Linked DNA regions of Homo sapiens: regions 1, 2, 3, 4, 5 and 6 are each linked to region 7. The links are contacts of gene promoters, found by promoter capture Hi-C in blood cells and fetal thymus (Javierre and others, 2016). All regions are on one chromosome and are shown on one strand. Each heading gives the region's core, a stretch centred on a gene start or on the middle of the fragment in contact. The rest is flanking DNA. Distances are from core to core; before and after follow the strand shown.

Region 1 (3,403 bases), core at 546-3,045, 810 kb after region 7:
TTTTAGTCAAATTTCAGTTTATTGCTTTTCTCTTCCCCCAACTACTGAAGTCATTCCAGATTAGAAATTAGCATATAGAATGGTGAGAAAAATTTTGACTGAAGAATTCATTTTCTTCCACCAAAAACTCGACTTTTAATAAGATAAATATAGGTTATTTCACTGTCATGAATCTTGATTCCAAGGAAGTAATAAACAGCAAATCCTTCTTTTCTAAATAAGGGATGTATATATTTGCAAAGCTGGCAAAGGAGTGTGTACAGTTCTGCCAGTGGACCTGACCTGGGCAAAACCAGGTGGTTCCCCCCTGCTCTTTCTAACCTCCCTTGGGGTCCAGGGCAAGGCTGATGCTCTCTCCTGGGCTTTTCTCATTTATGGGACTAACGAGGATAGTATAATGTGATTTCTGCCACGCTTCATCCAGGAAAAGCAACCATTTTCTTTGCAAAAGCAACATTTCAGTGGATTTTCACTGATGTGTGGTGACAGAAAAATGGACTTGAAGGAAAAAAAATGCACCAAGAGTCTGTTTAGCTCTGGCCATGGTTCTGGATGAAATTTATTATTTATAAATTTATAATTTATTATTTATCTGGTTTAATGCTTGGTTTTCAGAGGAGAGAATTTCAAGATTCAAATACAAATGGAGTTTCTTGTGCCAGAATGAAAGCGGCAGCCTTAAGACAGTTGTTAATGACCATTGAACGTGCATGTATAGTTTGAATTCTAACCAGGAAATTGATAATGAACAACAATTTTATGTTACTATAGAACTACTTTTTTTAAGCTGAAAATACCTTGAAATGAATTTATGTCAGACACAGCCAGCAAGAGACACTGGCTTTTTCATAACTGCCCCTGCTTGGTAAGAAGATAGACTGAATCCTGTTTACCTTACGTGTTTGAAGATGTGTTTGCTGATATAACACACACACATATGTAGCAGAGAGAGTTTGTAGTTTGAGATTATTTTCTAGAAATCTGTGATTTGTGCTTTATTACAGCTGTGCAGTTTCTCCAGAAAGCATTTTAAAATTGCAACGCCTTTCTCTAGCTCTAACCTGGGTCTAAGATGGCTGCCCCTGCCATGCTGCACATGCCTGTTCCACGCTTGGTGTTTGCATCAGACATGGGATTGCAGATGAAAAACAGATAGCGCTCCTCCTCTCCAGGGTTGACAAACTTTGCCTCTAATCACTGATTCTTTGATCTCAGCTTATTATTCCCTCAACTGGCTATGATTAGAAGCTCCACAACTGAGCTCCTTAATTTCTTTTCGTGACACATTGTTTTAAAAACTCATTTAAAATTATTGCAGAACTCACTTAATTGAGCTCCTTAATGTTTTTGATTCTTTTTAAAATTTTTAACTTTTAATTGTGTAATAACAGTGTAATATAATAATTTAACTGATTACTTGGGCGTGGTGGGTACACCTGTGGGCCCAGCTGTGTGGGAGGCTGAGGCGGGAGGATCCCCTGAGCCCAGGAGGTGGAGGCTGCAGTGAGAAGAGATCTCACCACGGCATTCCAGCCTGGGTAACATAGCGAGACCCTGTCTCAAAAATAAATACATGAATAAATTGAATTTAACTGTGCCTAACTATAGTTTACCATGCCACCCCTTTGGGGTGTGCAGTGCAGCAGGCCCAGAACCCCTTGCTTTGCAAAATGCAGCTTTTTGTGGTCCCCACACTTGCCTAGTAACCGCCGTTTTGTTTTGTTTTGTGTTTGCTTCCAGAACTCCAAGATGGGAGGCAAGCTCAGCAAGAAGAAGAAGGGCTACAATGTGAACGACGAGAAAGCCAAGGAGAAAGACAAGAAGGCCGAGGGCGCGGCGACGGAAGAGGAGGGGACCCCGAAGGAGAGTGAGCCCCAGGCGGCCGCAGAGCCCGCCGAGGCCAAGGAGGGCAAGGAGAAGCCCGACCAGGACGCCGAGGGCAAGGCCGAGGAGAAGGAGGGCGAGAAGGACGCGGCGGCTGCCAAGGAGGAGGCCCCGAAGGCGGAGCCCGAGAAGACGGAGGGCGCGGCAGAGGCCAAGGCTGAGCCCCCGAAGGCGCCCGAGCAGGAGCAGGCGGCCCCCGGCCCCGCTGCGGGCGGCGAGGCCCCCAAAGCTGCTGAGGCCGCCGCGGCCCCGGCCGAGAGCGCGGCCCCTGCCGCCGGGGAGGAGCCCAGCAAGGAGGAAGGGGAACCCAAAAAGACTGAGGCGCCCGCAGCTCCTGCCGCCCAGGAGACCAAAAGTGACGGGGCCCCAGCTTCAGACTCAAAACCCGGCAGCTCGGAGGCTGCCCCCTCTTCCAAGGAGACCCCCGCAGCCACGGAAGCGCCTAGTTCCACACCCAAGGCCCAGGGCCCCGCAGCCTCTGCAGAAGAGCCCAAGCCGGTGGAGGCCCCGGCAGCTAATTCCGACCAAACCGTAACCGTGAAAGAGTGACAAGGACAGCCTATAGGAAAAACAATACCACTTAAAACAATCTCCTCTCTCTCTCTCTCTCTCTCTCTCTATCTCTCTCTCTATCTCCTCTCTCTCTCTCCTCTCCTATCTCTCCTCTCTCTCTCTCCTATACTAACTTGTTTCAAATTGGAAGTAATGATATGTATTGCCCAAGGAAAAATACAGGATGTTGTCCCATCAAGGGAGGGAGGGGGTGGGAGAATCCAAATAGTATTTTTGTGGGGAAATATCTAATATACCTTCAGTCAACTTTACCAAGAAGTCCTGGATTTCCAAGATCCGCGTCTGAAAGTGCAGTACATCGTTTGTACCTGAAACTGCCGCCACATGCACTCCTCCACCGCTGAGAGTTGAATAGCTTTTCTTCTGCAATGGGAGTTGGGAGTGATGCGTTTGATTCTGCCCACAGGGCCTGTGCCAAGGCAATCAGATCTTTATGAGAGCAGTATTTTCTGTGTTTTCTTTTTAATTTACAGCCTTTCTTATTTTGATATTTTTTTAATGTTGTGGATGAATGCCAGCTTTCAGACAGAGCCCACTTAGCTTGTCCACATGGATCTCAATGCCAATCCTCCATTCTTCCTCTCCAGATATTTTTGGGAGTGACAAACATTCTCTCATCCTACTTAGCCTACCTAGATTTCTCATGACGAGTTAATGCATGTCCGTGGTTGGGTGCACCTGTAGTTCTGTTTATTGGTCAGTGGAAATGAAAAAAAAAAAAAAAAAAAGTCTGCGTTCATTGCAGTTCCAGTTTCTCTTCCATTCTGTGTCACAGACACCAACACACCACTCATTGGAAAATGGAAAAAAAAAACAAAAAAAAAACAAAAAAATGTACAATGGATGCATTGAAATTATATGTAATTGTATAAATGGTGCAACAGTAATAAAGTTAAACAATTAAAAAGAAGTAATAAAGACTATTGGGTTTTTTGTTCTGTTTGTT
Region 2 (3,716 bases), core at 735-3,234, 640 kb after region 7:
AGGTAGAGTCAGGTTTCCAAGCCAGGCAGGAAGCCCCATACCTGTGCTAGTGAGCTGCTGGAGTGGCTGAAAGGAATTAGTATCTTTCTCCATTTTTTTTTTTTTTTTTGAGATGGAGTCTTGCTTAGCTGCCCAGGGTAGAGTGTACTGGTGTGATCTTGGCTCAGCGCAACCACCGTCTCCCAGGTTCAAGTGATTCTCCCATCTCAGCCTCAAGACTAGCTGGGATTACAGTCACCTGCCATCTTACTGGGCTAATTTTTATATTTTAGTAGACACAGGGTTTCACCATGTTGGCCAGGCTGGTCTCAAACTCCTGATCTCAGGTGATCCCCCCGCCTTGGCCTCCCAAAGTGCTGGGATTACAGGTGTGAGCCACCGCACCCGGCCTCTTTCTCCTTTTTTATCTCTTTTCTAGAGTGGGGACAATTCCAGAAGAGTAAGACAGTCTTGCCAATAGAAAAGAGTGGAAGAGCTGGGGGCGGTGGTGCATGCCTGTAATCCCAGCACTTTGGAGGCCGAGGCGGGTGGATCACCTGAGGTCAGGAGTTTGAGACCAGCCTGACCAACATGGAGAAACCCTGTCTCTACTAAAAATACAAAATTAGCTGGGTGTGGTGGCACACACCTGTAATCCCAGCTACTCCGGAGCCTGAGGCAGGAGAATTGCTTGAACCCCGGAGGCAGAGGTTTCAGTGAGCTGAGATCACTCCATTGTACTCCAGCCTGGGCAACAAGAGCAAAACTCTGTTTAAAAAAAAAAAAAAGAAAAGAAGAGTGGAAGAAACAGGGAGCCAAGGACCAGTGTGGGTTAGACTTGATATTTTCTAGCATGTTTATTATGCATTAAAGCCATAAAATCAAAGTGAATTCCATTATTTTCATTTCTTCCAGATTTCTTTGTTCTCTTTGTTATCCTTCTTGCTGATGAGTTTATTATTATTATTTGAAAATGGTCTCAGGGCAAGCTTCTCTTTCTCAGCGTTCTTCCCTTTTACAATGGAACCCTGTCAGCATTTTCATCCTGCTTCCTCCTTATCTTTCTCATAGAAATGTAAATTCCATAATAGCACTGACCTTCTGCTTTGTCAATACTTTTAAGAAAGAACAGAAAAGCAAGCCACAACTCGATACAGACATCCAACCTCTTGGCTTTTTAGCAGCAGGATTTGTTGGTTTGTGTAGAGATCATGCATCTTGCTGGAAGCACGTTTTACCCCTTAGTTTCAGGGGACCACCACAATGCTGCAGCAGAATCCAAAGAAGGGTTGCTACCTATGTGGGTCAAGATGACGGAAAGTGCAAAATCATATATCTGTTGTTACAGTGGGGGCACTTTGCGGGGGGCGGTGGGGGTGTGGGTGGGAGAAGTGATCTGAAACCTTATGAGGTGAGGTTGTGTGCTGCTAAGGAGCATTTTTTTTTCTTTTTCTTTTCTTCTTCTTCTTCTTTTTTTTTTTTTTTTTTAGGGTCTTGCTCTGTCACCCAGGCTGGAATGCAATGGCTGATCTTGGCTCACTGCCACCTTGACCTCTCTGGCTCAAGTGATTCTCCCACCTCAGCCTCTCGAGTAGCTAAGACCACAGGTGCGTGTCACCATGCCCAGCTAATTTTGTTAATTTTTTGTAGAGACAGGAGCTCTCTGTTTCCCAGGCTGGTCTTGAACTGCTGACTTCAAGTGATCCTCCCACCCCTCCCTCCCAAAGTGTTGGAATTACAGGTGCAAGTCACTGCATGCCCAACCAAAAGCATTTTCTTTCTCTCTTTCTTTCTCCTTCCTTCCTTCCTTCTTTCCCCCTCGCCTCTTTTTTTTTTTTCCTAAGTTTTGCTCTGTTTCCCAGGCTGGAGTGCAGTGGCGTGATCTCAGCTTGCTGAAACCTCCACCTCCCAGGTTCAAGCGTTTCTCTTGCCTCAGCCTCCTGAGTAGCTGGGACTACAGGCGCGTGCCACCACGCCCAGGTAATTTTTTGTATTTTTAGTAGAACGGGGTTTCACCGTGTTAGCCAGGATGGTCTCGATCTCCTGGCCTCAGGTGATCCACCTGCCTCGGCCTCCCAAAATGTTGGGATTACAGGCGTGAGCCATTGCGTCCAGCCCACATTTTTTTTCTTAATCCCGGCCCTGGAAAACATTTTGATCTATAGAGGCATTTGTAAGGCTAGATGTCTTTGTACAATTTGTTAAGTAGTGTTCTGCAGACGATTGTAAAAATGGGTCAGGGAGTAGAAGGTGATATAAAGTATCCCAGAATATTGGTGAGGAAAGAAATCTGGAGTCATGTGTGGGAAGCACAGAAGGAAATTTTTAAGTATACAAGAAAGTTAAGAATGATAACTAGACTGCCTGTTCTGCCTGTGGAGTAGCCATTCTTTTATTCCTTCATTTTCTTAATAAACTTGCTTTCGCTTAAAAAAAATGATAACTAGACTGATAAAGAAGACATTAGCAATGAATGAATTGGATGAGTAAATCTTCAGTCAGAATGAGAGACCTGCTTGCTGTTGAATCTCTTGGAGGTCAGTCCTTTCACATTCAATAAATATGTATTGAGACCCGTGTCTTCAGGGCTCTAGGTGCTGGTGATTCAGTGGTGAATAAAGCCAAGGACATTTTTTTTTTTTTTTTTTGAGACAGAGTCTTGCTCTGTCGCCCAGGCTAGAGTGCAGTGGTGCGATTTCATCTCACTGCAACCTCTGCTTCCCGGGTTCAAGCAATTCTCGTGCCTCAGCCTCCCGAGTAGTTGGGATTACAGGTGCCCCCTCAGAACCCCTGGCTAATTTTTGTATCTTTAGTAGAGACGGGATTTCACCATGTTAGCCAGGCTGGTATTGAACTCCTGACCTCAGGTGATCTGCCCACCTCTTCTTCCTAAAGTGCTGGGATTACAGGCGTGAGCCCTGCCAGCCAAGGCCATCGTGTTACCTACTTTACATTGTAATGCAGGAGCCATCTAATAAATCAATAAACAAAAATATAATGTAAGGTGGTAGGATGACAGGAGAAGCTTGCCTGAGAAGGTGACATTTGAAATGACAACAGAAGGAAGTGAGCTGTGCAGATATGTAGGGCAAAGAGCATTCCAGGCAGAGGGAACAGCAAGTGCAAAGGCCTCAAGGCAGGAACATATTTGGGGCTATTCAAGGGCTAGCAAGAAAGGCAGGGGGAGAGTGGAGGAAGATGACATGGGAGCAAGGGGACATTGCAGAGTCCTTGTAAACCATCTGAGGATGTTATTTTCCATCCTAAGATGAAGGCAGTGAGTGGTTTGGAGTACAGTGGGGGCGTGATCTGGGTTAGAAGGATCACTTTGCTGTATGTGGAGCCAGGCCATGGTGAGAGAACGGCTGTATAGCTATAAAAACTCTCTTCCAGATTTGCAAAATGTCGATGAGAATAACTGCTTTAAAATATCTTTATAGAATACTCTATCCAGTTAAAAGAAACAAAAGTTTGGCATGATCTTCAAATAACCCAAGGGGGAGAAAAATATTAGGCAAATATAAACAGCATTGCATTCAAGAGGTGAAGTTGAGACATGCTTTCAATCTAGCCTCTGCAACAGCCAAGTCATCACAGCGCAATCAAATCCAGCTGGGACCACGGAAGATGACTCCATATCCTGTGGATACTCTGCTTGGCACAATGTGGGTGGGAGCCAATGAGGGCTGGATGGATGGAGGCCCTGAGACTGCTGCCAACCCTTGTTCAGAGCTAGT
Region 3 (3,470 bases), core at 572-3,071, 850 kb after region 7:
TTGTGTTTGCTCTCATCAATGTACATGACTGATGCATGCTCAAGTCTGAGAATCAATGCTCTAAATCAGGGGTCTGCAATCTACGGCTTATGGGCAAAGTCAGCTTCTTGACTGATATGGTACAGCTGGTGAGCAAGAAATGATTTTTATATTTTTAAACGTTAAAAAAGGGGGAATAGTATTTCATGAGAGATGAAAATTATATAAAATTTAAGTTTTAGTGTTTGTCCATAAATACAGTTTGATTGGAACATAGTTCCACCTATTCACTTATAGCTTTGCACTACAACAGCAAACTGGGGTCATTGCAACAGAGACCATATGGCCCAAAGGCCTAAAATACTTATTATCTGCCCCTTTACAGAAAGAGTTTGCTGACCCCGCTTGAAATCCTTTGTTCCTTCATCCTCCTCCTCTGTCTCCATGCCCACCCCCCCACACTCATTCCCATCTGAGGCCAGGACTCAGTCTGTGTCATTCGTTGTCACTGATAGTCTCCCATCTTCTTGGAACTCAGGGTCAAAGAGATTGTTGACCTTCACTTTAGCATCGTGTGCAGGGAAGCAAAGAAGCCTCGATTTTCATATGCAAACTGGATTTACTGGTGTCTGTCCAGAGGGAACATTACCCCGTGTAGCTTGCATTCACATTTTTGCTTCAGGGTTGAGGGCATGTATTTTCTTAGCATTTGATTATGGATCTGTTTTTAGAGGAACATGCTGTGGGGCAAAGGCCGGCCTGTTACTGTTTGTTCTGTCTAGAATGCTTTGGCATGCACACGGTAGATTATTGCAAATTGTTGAAATGAATATTTGTGGTTTAGGAACTCGTTAGTTGTCATTCTAGATGAGGTTATGTGTCTGTCAACTTCGGGTTCTCACTTCCTGAAAAAGATCCTCTCCTAATGTTTCATGAATTAAAGGCTCATACACACACTGCAAACTGAAGCAAGAAGTATGAACGCAATTGTACTGCCTGTGGCAAGACAAGATGCTTCTGCCCTGCAACCATCAGCTTCTTTCTGGGACAGTATGCTTATTTGCTTAATGCTAGCATAACCACCACTGAAACTGTGATCTGTGTTAAAATTAATCTTTTAAATCACTTAATAATGTGCTGCAGGAGCGGCCAATTGTACATGGACTACTTAAGTGAACTACTTTTAACATGAAGAGGAATATTTCATTTTGATTTTAATTTCACATTAATTTAGTTATGTGAGTGTCTGACAATGACACAATTTCACTTATTTTTCCCTGGGGAGATGTCAATGAATTCTCAATTTCCTTCCAAGGAGCCAGTCTTAGAATATTTGTGTGGTCTGTTTCATTGCTTTCCTTTTCCGTTCTAATAGGGCCAGCTGGGCTTTGACTCAGTGTAGCCGAGTGGGGGTGGAGGAGGGGGAACTGAATGTGTGTGTTTGTGTGTGTGCACGAACGTGTGTCTTATAAGGAGGGAAGGACTGGCTTGAGTTCCGGATTCAGCAATAAAGGGTGTAGAAGAAACAGCACTATGGAAATTTCAAATGGCAACAAATACAAGTGGAGGTCTACAGTTCAACAAAAATCACGGTTGATTATTAGTAAAAATTTTGTTTTAGACAAAATTTTCTCTCTACAGAGAGCAACTTTCTGAATGTGCACAGTGAGAGGCAGGAAACTGTTTTACTTCCTTGTTGCCTGGGACGAGAAGAAGAAGGCAGTGTCAGGTGAAGAGATGATGGGAAGGCGTGAGTAGTTTGGGAGGAGAAAAGATGGCAATACTGTGAAAAAGGCCTTTGTTGTGTTTATACCAATGACCTTTTATTCTTGCAAGTTTTTAATGAAAAAATTTAAAGATACAGAACGTTGAAAGAATAGTCCAATGAATACCTGTATATGCACCCGACTAGATTTAACAGATTCTTAACATTTTCTTACTTTTGCTTTATCCACCCATCAATGTATCCATCCGTCCATCCATCCCTTGTCCATCTGATATATCTCTCTCTCTCTTCATCCATCCCATTCCATCCATCCAAACTAGGGAGACTGAATAGTGCCCTAATTAAGAACCAGAAGAAGGCTGGGTGCGGTGGCTCATGCCTGTAATCCCAGCACTTTGGGAGGCCGAGGCGGGCGGATCACAAGGTCAGGAGGTCGAGACCATCCTGGCTAAATCATGAAACCCCGTCTCTACTAAAAATATAAAAAGTTAGTCGGGCGTGGTGGTGGGCGCCTGTAGTCCCAGCTACTCCGGAGGCTGAGGCAGGAGAATGGTGTGAACCCGGGAGGCGGAGCTTGCAGTGAACCGAGATCGCGCCACTGCACTCCAGCCTGGGCGACAGAGCGAGACTCCGTCTCAAAAAAAAAAAAAAAAAAAAGAAGAATGGTTTCTGCTCTTGATCTTCAGAGCAGAAGGATGTCTTTTTTTAGACCCACAAAAAGGGGGGTTCCATAAGGGAAGTGAAAGATGAAGGTGACTTTTGTGTTGTGATCTTTATAACAGATTCAATGGGAAGCTAAATGTCTGGCAACGATGATTACTGAGATGAAGGAAGGCAAGGACTTTCATTTGACTGAGTGACCATAACCATGAACCAACCTGAAAATTCGTTGGTATTAGAAAGTAGAAGAGTAAAGCAGATAGATAATTTTATCTTAAATTGTTGAATTTTATTACCAGGTAATACAGAAAATATTAGACTTCTTTTCTGGGGGGCAGGGTGGCGGGGGGGACAAAGTCTCACTGTGTTGTCCAGGCTGGAATGTCGTGCAGTGATCTCAGCTCCCTGCAGCCTCTGCCTCCTGGGTTCAAGCAATTCTTGTGCCTCAGCCTCCCGAGTAGCTGGGATTACAGGCATGCACCACCATGCTGGGCTAATTTAGTAGAGATGGGGTTTCACCATGTTGGCCAGGCTGGTCATGAACTCCTGACCTCAAGTGATCTGCCAACCTTGGCCTCCCAAAGTGCTGGGACTACAGGCATGAGTCACTGTGCCCGGCCAGAAAATAGTATCCTTTTTTATGTTTGTTTTCTCAGTTTGGTTTACTAATACTATCCAAACCTCAGGGTTTTTATGTATTCAGGTAAGAAAATGGAAAATGAAGACAGATTTCCAAGTACACTTCCCCCAGAGTGATTCCATAGTGACAATAGGAATACATGAATGGAAAATTCGCTTAAAAAAGAAGATGTTGGAATTATCCCTTTTATTTCAGTCTCTTAGATATCGCTTCCATGCACGTGCTGAAAACGCAGGTCTCAGGATCCTGCAAAGAACATGGCCTTGTTTCCTCCCGAGTGGCTGAAGACAATTGTAAGCCACAACACTCTCAGCCGTATCAAATCACAGGATATGGATTTTATGGATCTTTTAATTCTTACTTCAGTCTTCCTTACAAAATTTCTTAAATATGAATGGAGAGAAAGTCCGTGTTTCAAAGTAATGTGATTTTGTTTACCACTTAGAAACAATTAGTGACACGTCC
Region 4 (3,585 bases), core at 864-3,363, 760 kb after region 7:
GACAGATCTTTTTTGGTCATTTGATTAAGGGAAGGTGGCCTCAAAACTGTCAGTGGGCGTTGCCTCCAGTGACACCACCTGGGGAAAATTAAGACATCTTGGCGTTTATTCGAACAAGATGGCCTACAAAAACCGGAGAGAAGAAAACGATTACCTTGTCGGGATCCTAACCCTTTCTGTTTTCTCTGGACTCCGAACTCATTGTTTCATTAAGGATTCCAAAAGGCGAATGGCGTCCAGATGGAAATCTGATGGGGGCAGAAAGAAGGCAGTCGTTGGGGTGAAGCTGGTTGATTAGGTTCGCAATGATTCCTTTTTCCCCATTACCTAACAGAAGCCATGATATACCTTTGATGGCTGATTTTCTTTCAGATGATCTATTTTCCAGGTTATGGCCATTTAGATTTATTTTCAGGTAGTTTGTTTTTACCACACAAAAAGGGACTTATTGTGTATATTAAATAGGAGCCAAATATGATATTTTTTGCAGTGGTAGGTTATGTTTAATAGGGTTTTATGCTTAAGTACTGTCAGTACATCCTGGTGGAATAACGCGTGGCAGCAATGGAAATCATCTCTTTTGTCCTTTTTGATGAGAACTTGATATTGACCACGTTTAATATATCAGGGCCCATCTACTGGCTACGGTGGCTGTCTAGCTGTCTTCTAGGTGGCATGGATTGTACCCTCTGTACTCCTTAGTATTGAGTAGGTTATTATGATTTAGAGAGCTACGTTCTTTCTTTTTTCTTTTCCTTTAGGTTGTGTTTTTGGCGAGGGGTATGTTGGAATATAGAACAAATTCAATAGCAAATATATACCAGCATGTCCCCAATTCAGTAAATCTTAGGTTTTTGAGTGAGATAATATTTAAATCGATTTTTAAAAATTATTACAGAATTAAAATATTTCTATCAGTTCGCTTATTCTTTTAGCCAGCTAGCTTTTTGCCAAGCTTTAGCAGATAGAGAAATTGAGCCTTTTGATAAAAAGCACCAACAATGACAGTGGCATTTCTGTTCTTTAACTGGTACTCAGTCTGCCATTGTGACGTGTAGAAGAGAACCTTATCTCCCCACATCACCCTAGTTTAAAGGTCCAATGGGAGAGCCCTAAACATTTAGGCTGTCTATCCTTGGAGGCCTCTTCATAATCCTGGATTTACTAGGATCCATAATCCTCCTGGATCTTATGGTGCAAGAGGTGATGCGTTCTGTCTCTTTATTTTTTAATTTCACAATTAAGAACAGTTTGAAGCCATTTTCATTTCATGGTCAAGCGGAGTATGACATCAGAGAGAAACTTTCATTTGGAGGAGATTTGATCACTCTAAAATGGATGTCTGTGTTATTTACGGTAGTTTTGTAAAAATTGCAAAATCCACACCCATTTTTAAAAACAAGGTGTCATGTATATACACATGTACACATACACATACTTGTTTATACACACTCTAAAATCTTATGAATAACTTGAAATCAAACTGGTTGGTATAGAATATTATTTTATAGTGCTTTGATACTGGTCTTTGGAACATAATCAATTTCTGTCTTTCTAAATATGTGTTTGAAAGGGAAAGCCTAGCAAGTCTATTAATAAGCTCACTTCCCATTTATCCCAGTGTACCTGGAGCATTAAGCTAAGACGTTCATCCACAGGCTTAAAAACTTACATCAAGCACTACTGAACTTTACAAGCTGGAATAAACAATGCCTACTAAATAAAAGATTTATAAAATTGTTCTGTCTTATTTTTGTGATCTCTTGTAAATGTTTTTTTTTTTTTTTTTTTTAAATATCCAAAGAAGACCTGTGAACTATTATTTGTCAGAAGCAATTGCCCTTGGTATCTGATTCTGTTGAAAGAAATGCGTTGATTTGTCCAGACCTTTATCTTAATGTAGTTTGTACCTACTTATTTCACATCTTCTTTCTCTTCTTAATGATGGTCTTAGCTGGTACCCTGGAAACCAGGTAACTGCTGGGGAAAAACACTGAGTAGATATATAGACAACTTGAATATTCTCTGAAAATGGGCATGGAATCTTTATTGTTATATCAAATTTTCTCTAATTATATCTAATCCTTTAAATTTATTGTATCTCTTAAGACATTAGATAAGCCAGTGAACATGAGCTTTTTTCTTTGGCTTAATTATAGTGGACAACTATTAGGAAGGAACTGTGAGGTTGCAAATAGAATATTTTGAAAGATAAAGTACTCTTTATGTGTTTTGGGGTAATGTTTTTGGAGTGGTTTCTCAGGAAATCGTATAAAGACTGGATTTGAAGAATCTAATAATTCCTATTTTGGGGTTGTAATAAGAACTACATATGATATCTAAAAATGACTTAAGTGTGGAATGGCTGGCTCTGAAGGGCTCCTCAACCTCTCAGTCTCAATTAGTGATATCAATTACACTGAAAGTGTTTTCAACAACTGAAAGTGTCAATCAACACTTTCAGTGTAATTGACATCACTAACTAATTTCAGTATATTCAGCTGTATTTTTGTTCCAGCTTGATTAATGAAGCCCGGGGGACCCCAGGAGTATTAAGTTAGAAGTAGGATGTCTCAATCCTAAAGGGGACCAAATATCATGGTTCCTATTTTCTGTCCTTGTGTTTGTAGATATTTGAAATTCTGTATTATATGGGAATTAGCCTGAAAGTGGATTTCATGATATCAAGATGGCCACCTTCCTTGAATTCCCCAGGTCTGCTTATACTTATACTTATGTAACTTAAGAAGTGGCATTTAAGTTCTCTTGAGAAAATACAAGGGTAGTCTTGAAACCACAGCAGTGCCCAGCCTGCCAAAGGAAGGCTTTTGTGAAACGCCTTTCCAGCCACAGCCTTTGAGGCAGACGTCTAGGTAAGTGTCACATGAGAACAGATGTCTGGTAAATGCTCTCAAGAGTAAAAATCAACCATACAGAGTCCATTTCTCACCAGAATATAGTTCAATTGTAATTTTGAGGAGCCACAAGCCTAAGAAGGAAGCAGTGTGATTAAAACAGCATTCTCCTTTTCCCTCTAGAAGTCAGAAATGGGATGAAATGGGAGGCAGAGAGAATGAAATAGTGTGTTTTTCTTCTGCACCCTAAGGATTTAAATAACATAAAAAATTATTTCTTAATGTTTTACAGACTTTCCATACTCAGTACATTTTTGAACAAAAATAGGGAAAGCTGAGATTTTTTGACTCAACAAGGCCGTCAGTGCTGAGAGGTGGTGATTGAGCAGGCTTGGAAGTCTAGGAATACATTCCTGAAAGCTTTAGAGATTTAGAAATAGAAACCATCTGCAAGCACCACAGGGGCCCAGGGCATAAGGAAACACTTCAGGATAATATAGGAAAATGGTGTGCAGTGGAGAAAGCAAAGCATTTACACAATATTTTCCCCTTATCACTTAAGCATTTTATAAACTCTTTTTTTTTTTGGTTCGTTTTGAAGGAGGCAGGACTGGACTTCATTGGTTTGTGTTTTGAACTTCTGTTTGAAGTAGATATTTCAGCAATTTGTACATTGTGTAGGGAGTATAATATTTAGAAAGCATGATTTGGAGGGTTAGGCATGGTGGGG
Region 5 (3,717 bases), core at 1,025-3,524, 700 kb after region 7:
CAAGAGATCATGCCACACTTTTTTTTTTTTTTTTTTTTTTGAGACAGAGTCTCGCTTTGTCGTCCAGGCTGGAGTGCAGTGGCGTGATCTCGGCTCACTGCAAGCTCTGCCTCCTGCGTTCATGCCATTCTCTTGCCTCAGCCTCCCGAGTAGCCGGGACTACAGGCACACGCCACCACGCCTGGCTAATTTTTTGTATTTTTAGCAGAGACAGGGTTTCACCGTGTTAACCAGGATGGTCTTGATCTCCTGACCTCGTGTTCTGCCCACCTCGACCTCCCAAAGTGCTGGGATTACAGGCGTGAGCCACCACGCCTGGCCCATGCCACACTTTTAAATTTATATTTGTATATATATATAATTTTACAATATGCAAAATATATTAGCAAAGTAATGCATGTTTATAATTTTTAAATAATCCCATTTTAGAGGTGTGTGCTCAAATGTTTTTACTAAGAGAGGCATATGGATATCAGCTAAACTTTTGTTTAAGAAGATAATTAGGCAACTGAGCTAAAACAGAGAACCTGGAGGTTGGTGGACAAAGTAGGAGATGATTGTAATTCCTCAAGCAAGACATGCTGAAGGCCTAGACTAATGAGTGTCAGAGGAGGAAAGATGGATTTCAAAGACTTCTCCGAGGCGGGGTTGGGGAGGTGTTGGTAAATAGATGTGAGCATGAAGGAGAGGGAGAAATTCAGTTTAAATGTCAGGTTTGCTACGTGGAAAGCAGGGTTGGTGGTGGTAGCATTCATGGGGAACTTGACTGACTATAGAAGGCAGAGCTGATTTATGAACTGGGGAGAAACCATGATGTCATGATTTACATGATTTCATGTAAATGATGTGGAATAGTTTAGGTGATGGGATGCATATTGGAATTACCTTTTGGATTTATGCTAGATTATTCTAGCCAGTTGGAGCAGGTAAAAGATGCCTAGGCTCGTTTCCTATCTGTCATATAATCACCTCACACTCCTGGAAATGGGCTTTAAAAGGGACATTTCTTAATCCTTCTGAAAAATTGTAGTTCAGACTTTGGCCAATTAAACCTCAGGGGTGCTCTCAACTGGAAAACCACTTGGCACAGGGCAGTCAAGAACTGCTGTTAGTGGTCAGTGCCTGTTCTATCTTAACTCCTTCCCTGCTGAGAGGTCAGCTGGACTCCAGCAAAGGCCTGGATATGCATGAAAAAGGATGAGGGGTGAGGATGGAGAGGTGCATCTGTTCATCTGAGCATTCCCCTGTTTAGCTCTATAGCCAGGTCTGAGGCTATCATGGGCAAAAAAGGAAACCCAGAAGGGCCTTGAGCTTATTTTAAAGTCAAAGTGAAAGACTATAGAGTCTTAATTATGAGTTGATATCATTTCAGAAACTTTTCTCTTGTAGCCTTTTTGAGCAGTGGTCTCTCATGTTACAGGGGAGGCCTGTACCCCTAAAAGTATGCAAGAAAATTGGATACAGATGTATTCTTTAATCTGAAAAAAAATAAAGAAGACACTAAGCTTTACTGATACTTACACATGACTGAGAGCAAGCAGTTCACGTGTAGAGTTGATAAATAAGTGTCATACTGGGGATGCCTGGTCAGAAATCTTTTACTGATAGGGCCACATGACCCAGAAAGTTTGGGCTTTAATGGTGTATCAGAGAGATGAGAAGCAGGCAGGCTAGATAGAAGCAGATAGGTTTTTGCAAGTGAGAGGAGAGGGGGCAGTCGGGACAGTGAGATAAAGAGGAAGAGGCAGAGGGGATGGTATTTAGGAGGTAAATTCTACAGGATTTGGTGACTGATGATTGATGAATTTTGAGTGAATCTTTGATAAGACACCCCGCCATGAAAAACAATTTTGTCTCCTTAGTGCTTCTAGAGACCTGCCATCATTTCTGTGATGGCAAAATTATCTACCTAGTTATTTGTCAGTCTTCTTCCTCTCTCCAAATGCCTTTGGAGTTGTATCTCCAGTAATTTAGTGGATACTAAATACATGTTGCTATGTGAATATTACATGAAATGTTTTAACAGCTCAAAATATGGAAGATAAACTTTTTTTTTTTTTTCCTGAGATAGGGTCTTGATCTGTCGCCCAGGCTGTAGTGCAGTGGCGCAATCTCAGCTCACAGCTCACTGCAATTTCCACCTCCCGGGGTCAAGCGATTCTCCTGCCTCAGCCTCCTGAGTAGCTGGGACTATAGGCATGTGCCACCATGCCTGGCTAATTTTTATATTTTTAGTAGAGATGGAGTTTCCCCATGTTGGCCAGGCTGCTCTCAAACTCCTGACCTCAGGTGATCCACCCACCTCGGTCCCAAAGTGCTGGGATTATAGGTGTGAGCCTGCACCTGGCCTAAGAAACATTTTTGAATTAGAGAGCGTTCTTGGCTAGACTCTGTGGCTCACGCCTGTAATCCCAGCACTTTGGGAGGCCAAAGAGGCAGGATTGCTTGAGCCCAGGAGTTCAAGACCAGCCTGGGCAACATGGCAAGACCCTGTCCATAGAAAAAATTTTAAAAATTAGCTGAGTGTGGTGGTGCGTGTCTATGGTCCCAGCTACTGGAAGCTGAGGCAGAAGGGTCACTTGAGCCTGGGAAGTTGAGGCTGCAGTGAACCATGTTTGTGCCACTGTACTCCAGCCTGGGTGACAGAGCAAGACTCTGTCTAAAAAAAAAAAAGAGAGAGAGAGAGTGTTTCATATAATTGTAGGTTTTTATTTCAATAAAATAATCATGCATTATGATATGACGTGGACTCAGGGATCTTAACACCAGCCTTAGGATTCTGCATTACAATTTGGAAATTACTAGGGATTTGTCAATGACTACTGTTTGAAATTTACATGGTGATAAAGGACATTATTTTACTACCTGCAAGTATAAGAGTCAACATTAACCATGAAAGTTATTTTCTCCTTACGAAAATATAAAAGTCAAAATTAGCCATAAAAGTTATTTCCAAAGCATTTCCTTTTGAACATGCAAGGAATGCTGACTATTCAACAAACAGTAGTTGCATAAAGAAGATTTTTGGTCCCATGATCTGGCTGAAGCTTTGCACAAACAGCTGCTTATCTCATGAATGGAATTTCCTGTTAATATTCTTGCAGGCTAATTGTTCATCAAAAGTACAACAAATGTCAACAAACATCAGAAACGTGTTACATCTTAATATTTACAAGACAGCAGAAATAGTTCAGATGTTTAACTTGGTTGAGCTTAAAAGGCAAGAGTGCAATCTTTAGCCCTTGTCACAAACTAGTCTTGACGGGATTAATGCTATTCACATAAACCATTTGTTTTAAATGCCCTCTTTCCTGTTAATTTACAACAACATATGGCTTAAGATAGCACAGGATAAGGGAAGAAACAAAACTGTAACTTCAAACAGTATAGTTGAAAGCACCTTTGTTTTGAATGGATTTCATAGACTTTTCATCCCAACTACATATGGAAATAAATTTTCTTAGAATAAAAATGCTTCAAATGGACTCTTAGGCTGGGCGTGGTGGCTCACGCCTGTAATCTCAGCCCTTTGGGAGGCCGAGGCAGGAGGATCTCTTAAGGTCAGGAGATCAAGACCATCCTGGCCAACATAGTGAAACCCCGTCTCTACTGAAAATACAGAAATTAGCTGGGCATGGTGGTGAATGCCTGTAATCCCAGCTACTCAGGAGGCTGAGGCAGGAGAATCGCTTGAACCCAGGAGGTGGGGGTTGCAGA
Region 6 (3,304 bases), core at 544-3,043, 720 kb after region 7:
GACGGGGAAACAGCAGCACACTTGCGGCCCCCTGGAGTCTGTCCCATCTGCCCTACCATCCTGTCATCTCCAAGGATCACCCAAGCTCTGGCCAGGCTGGTAATCTGTCTCCTTTGCATGCCCTTGCTCCCTGCTGCTCTGTGGGGCTTTCCCATGGACTCCTGACTCCTCTTTTACTCTCATGGCAACCCTTTCCATTGGGCTGTCTGGGATTCCTGTTCTTCAGTGGATACTTCCTTCTGTGTCCTCAGTCTCAGAGAATGCGCACCCTAGCTGAAGTTCTGCTCTCTCCAGAGTATCCCGGCTTCCCCCTTTTCACATTTCATCTACTGGGTTGGGGACCCATTTACGCCAATACTCCATGATCACTTGCAATCTATGACTCTTCCTCCTTTTGGAAAATACCCCTGCTCTGTAGAGTCCTTGATATTTAAGATGTGTGTGTGTGTATGTGTGTGTGTGCACGTGTGCGTGCACGTGTGCTCGTGTGTGTGCGCATATATAGCGTTAAGTGCTCCGGCTTCAATATCCAATGATGTGGGTTCTAATTTCGGTTTTGTACTCACTAGTCTGTGAGACTTTGGTCAAGTTACTTTTTTGAAGGCTTGTTAACTCTTCTATAAAATGTGGACGGCAGTACTTCTATAGCATGGGGTTGTTGTGAGGATTACATGAGAAGATCCATATGAAGTGTCTAGCACATTTCTGGTGTAACTCAGTCGACGTTAACTATGATCACATTTGGGCTGCTCACTTGCCTTTTCAAATCCCCCACCATTTGAAAAATGTCAGTGTTCTTTGGCACCACACAACCTGCTCCTGACAGTTCCCAGCTTCCTTAACTCTGGGGCATGCATTTCTACCACAGGCCTGCCCCACTTTCTGGCAACAACCTCCTAATCTATCTGCTCCTTCTCCCTGCCTGGGTCACCTCCTTCCTGTCTACCATGTCCTTGTCTCCCCGTAGCACTAGCCTAGGACCCTCCAACCTCAGCCAGATAGTCTACTTTCACTGAGACCTACACAGTTTGTGGTGTGTACCTGACTCATCTTGTGTGACTGTCATGTTTATTCTGTGGTTATATTTTTCATAATTCTTCCATTATAAGGATCCATATGGGGCTGAACCACTTCCTATACCCCACCCGCATTCCCACAAGCTGGATCGCATGTGAAGAATCTGATAATCTCTCTCTCATCTGGAGATTTGGTCTTAGTTCAGTAATGCCCCTGATCCAGGGAGTTAGTTGTCTAGGACACAGACTTGGCAGGGAGGTGAGGTGGCACTTTTCAGTGGCCATGACTCTGTAGCTGGGAAGCAAGGAAGCCACAGGGTGGTCTTGATCATGTGAACCAAGCCCGTGAGCTTGGAGGAGGGGTGGCACAGGGCCTGTGAGCGGTGGACACGCTCAGCCATGTTTCTGTGCTTCTGAGTTTTAGGCTTGTTAAATTTTCTTGATGTTCTTTGATTTCCCTTTCTCCTTTCTTTAGTAGCTTTGGAAATTCCAGTCTGTTTCACTTCTGCTGAAACACAGCAAGGATAAGGGAATTTTCCCTGGTGTGGCTCCATCTTTAAGATGACACTTAACTTTGGGAGGCAGAATGCCAGGGGCAGAGGGAGTCCGACCGAGGGCTCTCTATGGTGATCCCCCACCTGTGGCACACAGAGGATGCCCAAGTCAGCGAGCTGAGACCTTCCTGTCCCAGGGACGTGTAGAGCCAGGGAATTTGGGGGAGAAGATTTGGCTTGGCTTGTGCCTTATCTTTCCCATCATTCTGAGAGGTGAAGTGGCTCTTTCTCAGAATGGAATGGAGAGGAAGGAAGATTCTTGTGGTTACTGGAGAATTAGAACATGACAAGGTACTCGCTCCATTTTGTTTGAGATTTTATGAATTCTCAAAATATCAGAGGCATTTCTATCAAAAAAAAGAGAAAGGTCCCCAAAAGGCAACTCTTGAGTGACCACCATTTTGGAGGATTTATTCATTCTTGTCTTGTAGGTGGGTAATAAAGAATAAAATATAATTGTATAATACTTTAAAAAGACTATACAGGCAGTTGGGAGTCCGTCCACCAGGCTCTGCTCACTCGCTGAAAGGCAACGTGATTTACTATAAGATGCTTAACTTTGCTGTATATTTCCTGAGGTTTAAAATAAGATCTGTACTTATCTTTTCCTTTAAACTGACATGAATAAGGGAACATTTATGTCAAATAATTTGAGCAACTCAAAGGAGCAAAGTGCTTTAAAAATGCCAACTGGACTGTGAAGTTTTTAGGTATTTGAGGAGATCTACAAAATGGACTGGAAAAAATGGGCATGTCTCCAGAAATCACCAACAGCTGTGCGTTTAAAGATAACTAAAAATAATATTTCATATTGAGAAATTGGAATATCGGGGTTGAGTAGACCGGAAAATAGGGAAGAAAAGGAGAAGACACAGAAAAAAAAAGCCTTAAAACTTCGTGCTTCAGCAGTTGAACCTCTCTTGATTATCATTCCCAGAATTCCATTCTACTTTTTCCATTTTTTTTTTTTTTTTGAGATGGAGTTTTGCTCTGTTGTGCAGGCTGGAGTGCAGTGGCACGATCTTGGCTCACTGCCACCTCCGTCTCCTGGGTTCAAGTGATTCTCCTGTCTCAGGCTCTGAGTAGCTGGGATTACAGGCGCCCGCCACCACACCCAGCTAATTTCTGTATTTTTAGTAGAGACGGGGTTTTGCCATGTTGCCCAGGCTGGTCTCGAACTCCTGACCTCAGGTGATCCACCCACCTTGGCCTTCCAAAGTGCTGGGATTACAGGCGTGAACCTCCGTGCCCGGCCTACTTTTTCCAGATTTGGTCATGAGTTTCCTAGGGCTGCCATAATGAAGGACTACAAACTGGGTGACCTAAAACAAGAGATCTATTTTCTCCAATTCTGGAGAACAGGAGTCTGAAATCAAGGTGTGGGCAGGCCTGGTTTCTTCCGGAGCTCCTTCCATCTCTCCCAGCTGCTAACAGTCCTTGGTGTTCCTTGGCTAGTGGACGCATCACCCCCCTCTCTCCCTCTGTCGTCCCACCGCGTTCTGTCTCTGCATCTCAGTGTTCAAATCTCCTCTCCTTATAAAGACAGCAGTCACATTGGATGAGCGCCACCTAGTGGCCGAAGTTTAACTTGAGGACAACTGCAAAGACCCTCCTTCCAATAATGTCACATTGGCATGTAAAGAGGGGTTAGGACTTCAACATATTTTTTCGGAGAAGACATACAATTCAACCCAAAACACTGACCAAAACTTCACTTTCCCTGGGCGACCCCAG
Region 7 (3,461 bases), core at 582-3,081:
TTTTCTTTGTTTCTTTCCTATGCCTTACAGCACCTAGCCCAGTGCTGAAAATATAGTTAGGAAGTCTCCTACCTGCCTGGATATTTTTATAAACTTCTAAAACAATGCCTCTATCTACTATTTCACAAAAGTACTATGGGGTGTGTGTATGTGCTGGTAGGGTGCTCTATGAACGGCTATGGTTTGAATGCATGTTTCCCTCCCAAAATTCAAATGTTGAAACTTAATCATCAATGAAATGGCATTAAGAGGTGGGGCCTTTAGTGGGTGATTAGGTTAGGCAAGCACTAATCCTGAATAAATGGATTAGTGCGAGGGAACTGGCTAGCCCCTTTTTTGCCTTCTGCTTCTTCCACCACATGATGACACCATGAGAAAACTTCATCTATAGAACAGGCCCTCACCAGACACTGACTCTGCCAGCACCTTGATTTTGGACTTCCCAATTTCCAGAACTATGGGAAAATACATTTATGTTGTTCATAAATCACCCAGTCTCTAGTACTTCCTTATAGCAGAGTGGACAGACTAAGACATGAACACCTACACCAGCACTGTTAATAGGATGTGGGATGAGGGAAGTAAGGAATAAATAGCTCATAAAGGCAAAGAGGTGAGGGTGCTGGCTCCAGCTCCAAATTTCTGGCTGAGTTGGTTTTGATCCCCTCATTCTGTTTTACTCAACTAAATTAAGTGCAAAACCATCATAACTGGAAACCCACTAGAATCGCAAATTACACGGCAGCTGGTATGACGATAGCATGTCCTCCTGTGCATATGTTAAAAGCCTCTTCATCCAAAACACAGAAGGCATCAATTCATTCTCCAAATATGCATTAAGCACTTCTTTTTCCAGACAAGGTTTTAGGCCTTGGAGAATGAATTGAGTGAACTAAACAGCCAAACCTGCTGGCCAGATAAGGCACTTCAGAAAGCGTCTAAACCACCTTCCCTCATCATTTTTACTTAAAAGCTCTCAAACACACACACACACCCATCTCGAGTATAAATCTGGAAACTTAAGGGTGGGCCAAGTTCCTCTTTACCCTCCCCGCCCAGACAGGGCCATCACCGTCTCCATCCAGGTCCTCTTCCTCCTCCTCGCTGTCCTCCTCCTGCTGCTTTGCCAACTTCTTCGCCTGCTGTTCAAACCACTGGAGCCGGGGTGGTTTCTCACTCGGGTCTCGGTCGTGGGTCCCACGGCCACCAGTACCCACGGCCACGACATTCCTGGCCTCCTTTGCAGGCGCTGGGGGCGCCTTCTTGGGAGACATGGACGGCTGGGCCTTGATGGCCTGCTGGATGGCCGCGTTCATGGCATCCTTGTCCACACTGTCCACGCCCAGTCCTTTCTCCAAGTTCTTTTCATTCATCATCTCCACTTTCCGATTCACTGCCTGCACGGCCTTCTTCTCCAGCTCAACGTGACGCCGGGACTTGAGGTGGTTCTCGTAGGCGTTGAAAGAGGCAAACTTCTTACTGCAAACGGTGCAGTAGGTGGCCGAGCCCTTGCTCTCCTCCTCCGCGACGGCCCGCTGCGCCCGCACTCGCTCCTGGAAGCCCTCGGCGGTCACTGGGGCCATGCTGGCCACCTTCCGCCGCAGGTTGTAGCGGTGCCAGTCCGTCTTATAGTGGGCCCGCTGCATGTCCGCGTCGCGGAACGCCACCCGGCAAGTTATGCAGGTGTACGTCGCCATTGCCAGGCGAGAAATAAGAACCGACCAAGCCAAACACCTGGTGATCAGCGCCGTGGCCCCACAAGACCCTCAGACCTTAACCCGCCTCAGCAGCCAGGAAGAGCCACTCGACACGCCGACTTCCTGATTGTCACTGAGGAAACTTCCGGCACACGTCGGAAGTTATTCACAACTGGACAGGAAACCCGCCTCTCAGGCTGTGGCCACGCCTCCGCCGCCGTGAGGCCCAGGAAGCCGAGGGAACGCTGTGGCTGAAAGGGACCTGGGTCCGCTCAGTCAGCCCGAGGTGGCTGTTGATTGAGGGAGGTCGCGCCCTCCCAGTTACCTTCCCTGGTGGTTGTGCCGCTCGGTGTGACGCGGTCAAGGGGACGGCTACGCGAGAATGGGGGAGTGGGGCGCCCGAGGCTGCTCCTGGGCCCTGGGAAGCCCCCGATTAATGAATGGTCGGGTCAGCGACGCGAGGGTCGGGGTTTCTCTGAGGACCGCGCGCTGCACCTGCGGAGCCGGGTGAATGGATGTCGCGAAGGCAAGGGCTGCCCTTACCCCTCGGGGCCGACCTCGGAGCCCTCGCCCGTGGTTGCAACGCTTTCCCGGGAAACCGGAGAAGCCAGGCCGGGGGCTCGGCCTTTCTGAGGCGGCCCTTCCGGCGGAGGACACCGGCGGAATTTGAGTGCACAGAGTGCGCGAGAGGAGCTCCCTGTAGACACACAGTCCAAGCCACGTAGGTAATTCTAATAGCAGCCACATTTTTAAAGAGTAAAGAGAAATCGGTGAAACTGCTTTTAATGTGTTTAATTTAGCCCATCCTGTCATTTCAGCATGTAATCAGTCTAAAAGAATTAATTAGATCTTTTACGCTCTGTCGTTGGTTCTAAGTCTTGGAAATCCAGTGTGTGTTTTAGAGTTAACAGCCCATCTCAATTTGGACTAGACCCGTGCCAGGTGCCCAGTTGGCTGTGTACCCTCATGTATATAGGACAGCAAAGTTCTGTAGAAAAGAACTTCAGGCCAGGCGCGGTGGCTCACGCCCGTAATCCCAGCACTTTGCGAGGCCGAGGCGGGCGGATCATCTGAGGTCAGGGGTTCAAGACCAGCCTGGCCAACATGGCGAAACCCAGTCTCTGCTAAAAAATACAAAAATTAGTCCCGGCGCAGTGGCGCAGACCTGTAATCCCAGCTACTTGGGAGGTTGAGGCAGGAGAATCGCTTGAACCCGGGAGGCGGAGGTTGTGGTGAGCCGAGATCGCGCCACTGCACTCCAGCCTGGGCAACAGAGCAAGATTCCATCTCAAAAGAAAAAGAAAACATGAACTTCAAATGCTTGGGGAGGTCGTAGATTTCATCCACACAGCCTGGTTGAACCAGAGTCAGCCTTGTTAGAGTCGAATGTTGCATGCTCAGAATCCAGGCTGCCAAGAGAAAACCAAAAGAAGATGGCGCTTTAAAAAACCTTCCAGTGCCTTCCCTTGACTCAATCAAATTCAAACACCTTACTTTCTATTCTCCGAGGCTCTACCCCTCCCTCTGAGGTCCTGCCACACCCCCTTCTCTACCCTGCTCACCCTACTTGAGTCGCAATGACACATTTGATGTTCTTCTAACAAGCACTTTAGTTGGTACTAAGTCAGAAAGTCAGAAATCCATTACTCTTCTGCTTGGAACATCCTTTTGCTGGCTTGCTTCCTTATTTTTTGGATCTCTGCCCAAATGCCTTTGTAAGAGAGGCTTATCCAAATCCACTTACCAAAAATAGTGCCTACCTTC

The links. Contacts are between HindIII fragments. The CHiCAGO score rates a contact against its expected background, and 5 or more counts as called.
Region 1: a contact is called between a fragment that was not itself captured here and the fragment with the promoter of ZNF622 in region 7, in 2 of 17 cell types (naive B cells and total B cells). The highest score is 5.3, in naive B cells.
Region 2: a contact is called between a fragment that was not itself captured here and the fragment with the promoter of ZNF622 in region 7, in 2 of 17 cell types (M2 macrophages and M0 macrophages). The highest score is 7.0, in M2 macrophages.
Region 3: a fragment that was not itself captured here is called in contact with the fragment with the promoter of ZNF622 in region 7 in 1 of 17 cell types (total B cells); the score reaches 6.0 in total B cells.
Region 4: a contact is called between a fragment that was not itself captured here and the fragment with the promoter of ZNF622 in region 7, in 1 of 17 cell types (total B cells). The highest score is 7.6, in total B cells.
Region 5: a fragment that was not itself captured here is called in contact with the fragment with the promoter of ZNF622 in region 7 in 2 of 17 cell types (M0 macrophages and megakaryocytes); the score reaches 6.8 in M0 macrophages.
Region 6: a fragment that was not itself captured here is called in contact with the fragment with the promoter of ZNF622 in region 7 in 2 of 17 cell types (megakaryocytes and M0 macrophages); the score reaches 9.4 in megakaryocytes.

The regions. Positions count from the first base shown.
Region 1 is chr5:17,273,468-17,276,870 of GRCh38, forward strand. BASP1 (brain abundant membrane attached signal protein 1) reads left to right here. Exons shown (of 2, transcript NM_006317.5): 2 at 1,741-3,367. The coding sequence starts at 1,750. The coding sequence ends at 2,433. Among named protein-coding and RNA genes, the nearest start is that of BASP1, 58 kb to the left of the region's middle. RefSeq lists an enhancer at 2,167-2,667. The HindIII fragment of the contact is 6,227 bases long and covers 1-3,403 here.
Region 2 is chr5:17,102,630-17,106,345 of GRCh38, forward strand. It overlaps LOC124900947 (a long non-coding RNA gene), which reads right to left. Exons shown (of 2, transcript XR_007058707.1): 2 at 3,399-3,716. Among named protein-coding and RNA genes, the nearest start is that of MIR10522, 52 kb to the right of the region's middle. The HindIII fragment of the contact is 2,036 bases long and covers 967-3,002 here.
Region 3 is chr5:17,316,315-17,319,784 of GRCh38, forward strand. No RefSeq gene overlaps it. Among named protein-coding and RNA genes, the nearest start is that of LINC02111, 69 kb to the right of the region's middle. The HindIII fragment of the contact is 5,802 bases long and covers 1-3,470 here.
Region 4 is chr5:17,219,594-17,223,178 of GRCh38, forward strand. All of the region lies in intron 1 of BASP1 (brain abundant membrane attached signal protein 1), which reads left to right. Among named protein-coding and RNA genes, the nearest start is that of BASP1, 3.8 kb to the left of the region's middle. The HindIII fragment of the contact is 2,320 bases long and covers 954-3,273 here.
Region 5 is chr5:17,166,562-17,170,278 of GRCh38, forward strand. The region is part of intron 1 of BASP1-AS1 (BASP1 antisense RNA 1); the gene reads right to left. The region is part of intron 2 of LOC105374664 (a long non-coding RNA gene); the gene reads left to right. Among named protein-coding and RNA genes, the nearest start is that of MIR10522, 12 kb to the left of the region's middle. The HindIII fragment of the contact is 1,542 bases long and covers 1,504-3,045 here.
Region 6 is chr5:17,186,461-17,189,764 of GRCh38, forward strand. All of the region lies in intron 1 of BASP1-AS1 (BASP1 antisense RNA 1), which reads right to left. Among named protein-coding and RNA genes, the nearest start is that of BASP1-AS1, 29 kb to the right of the region's middle. The HindIII fragment of the contact is 3,942 bases long and covers 1-3,304 here.
Region 7 is chr5:16,463,969-16,467,429 of GRCh38, forward strand. It overlaps ZNF622 (zinc finger protein 622), which reads right to left and starts at 1,832. Exons shown (of 6, transcript NM_033414.3): 1 at 1,073-1,832. The coding sequence starts at 1,697. RefSeq lists an enhancer at 1,140-1,209 and a silencer at 3,017-3,239. The HindIII fragment of the contact is 4,211 bases long and covers 1-3,461 here.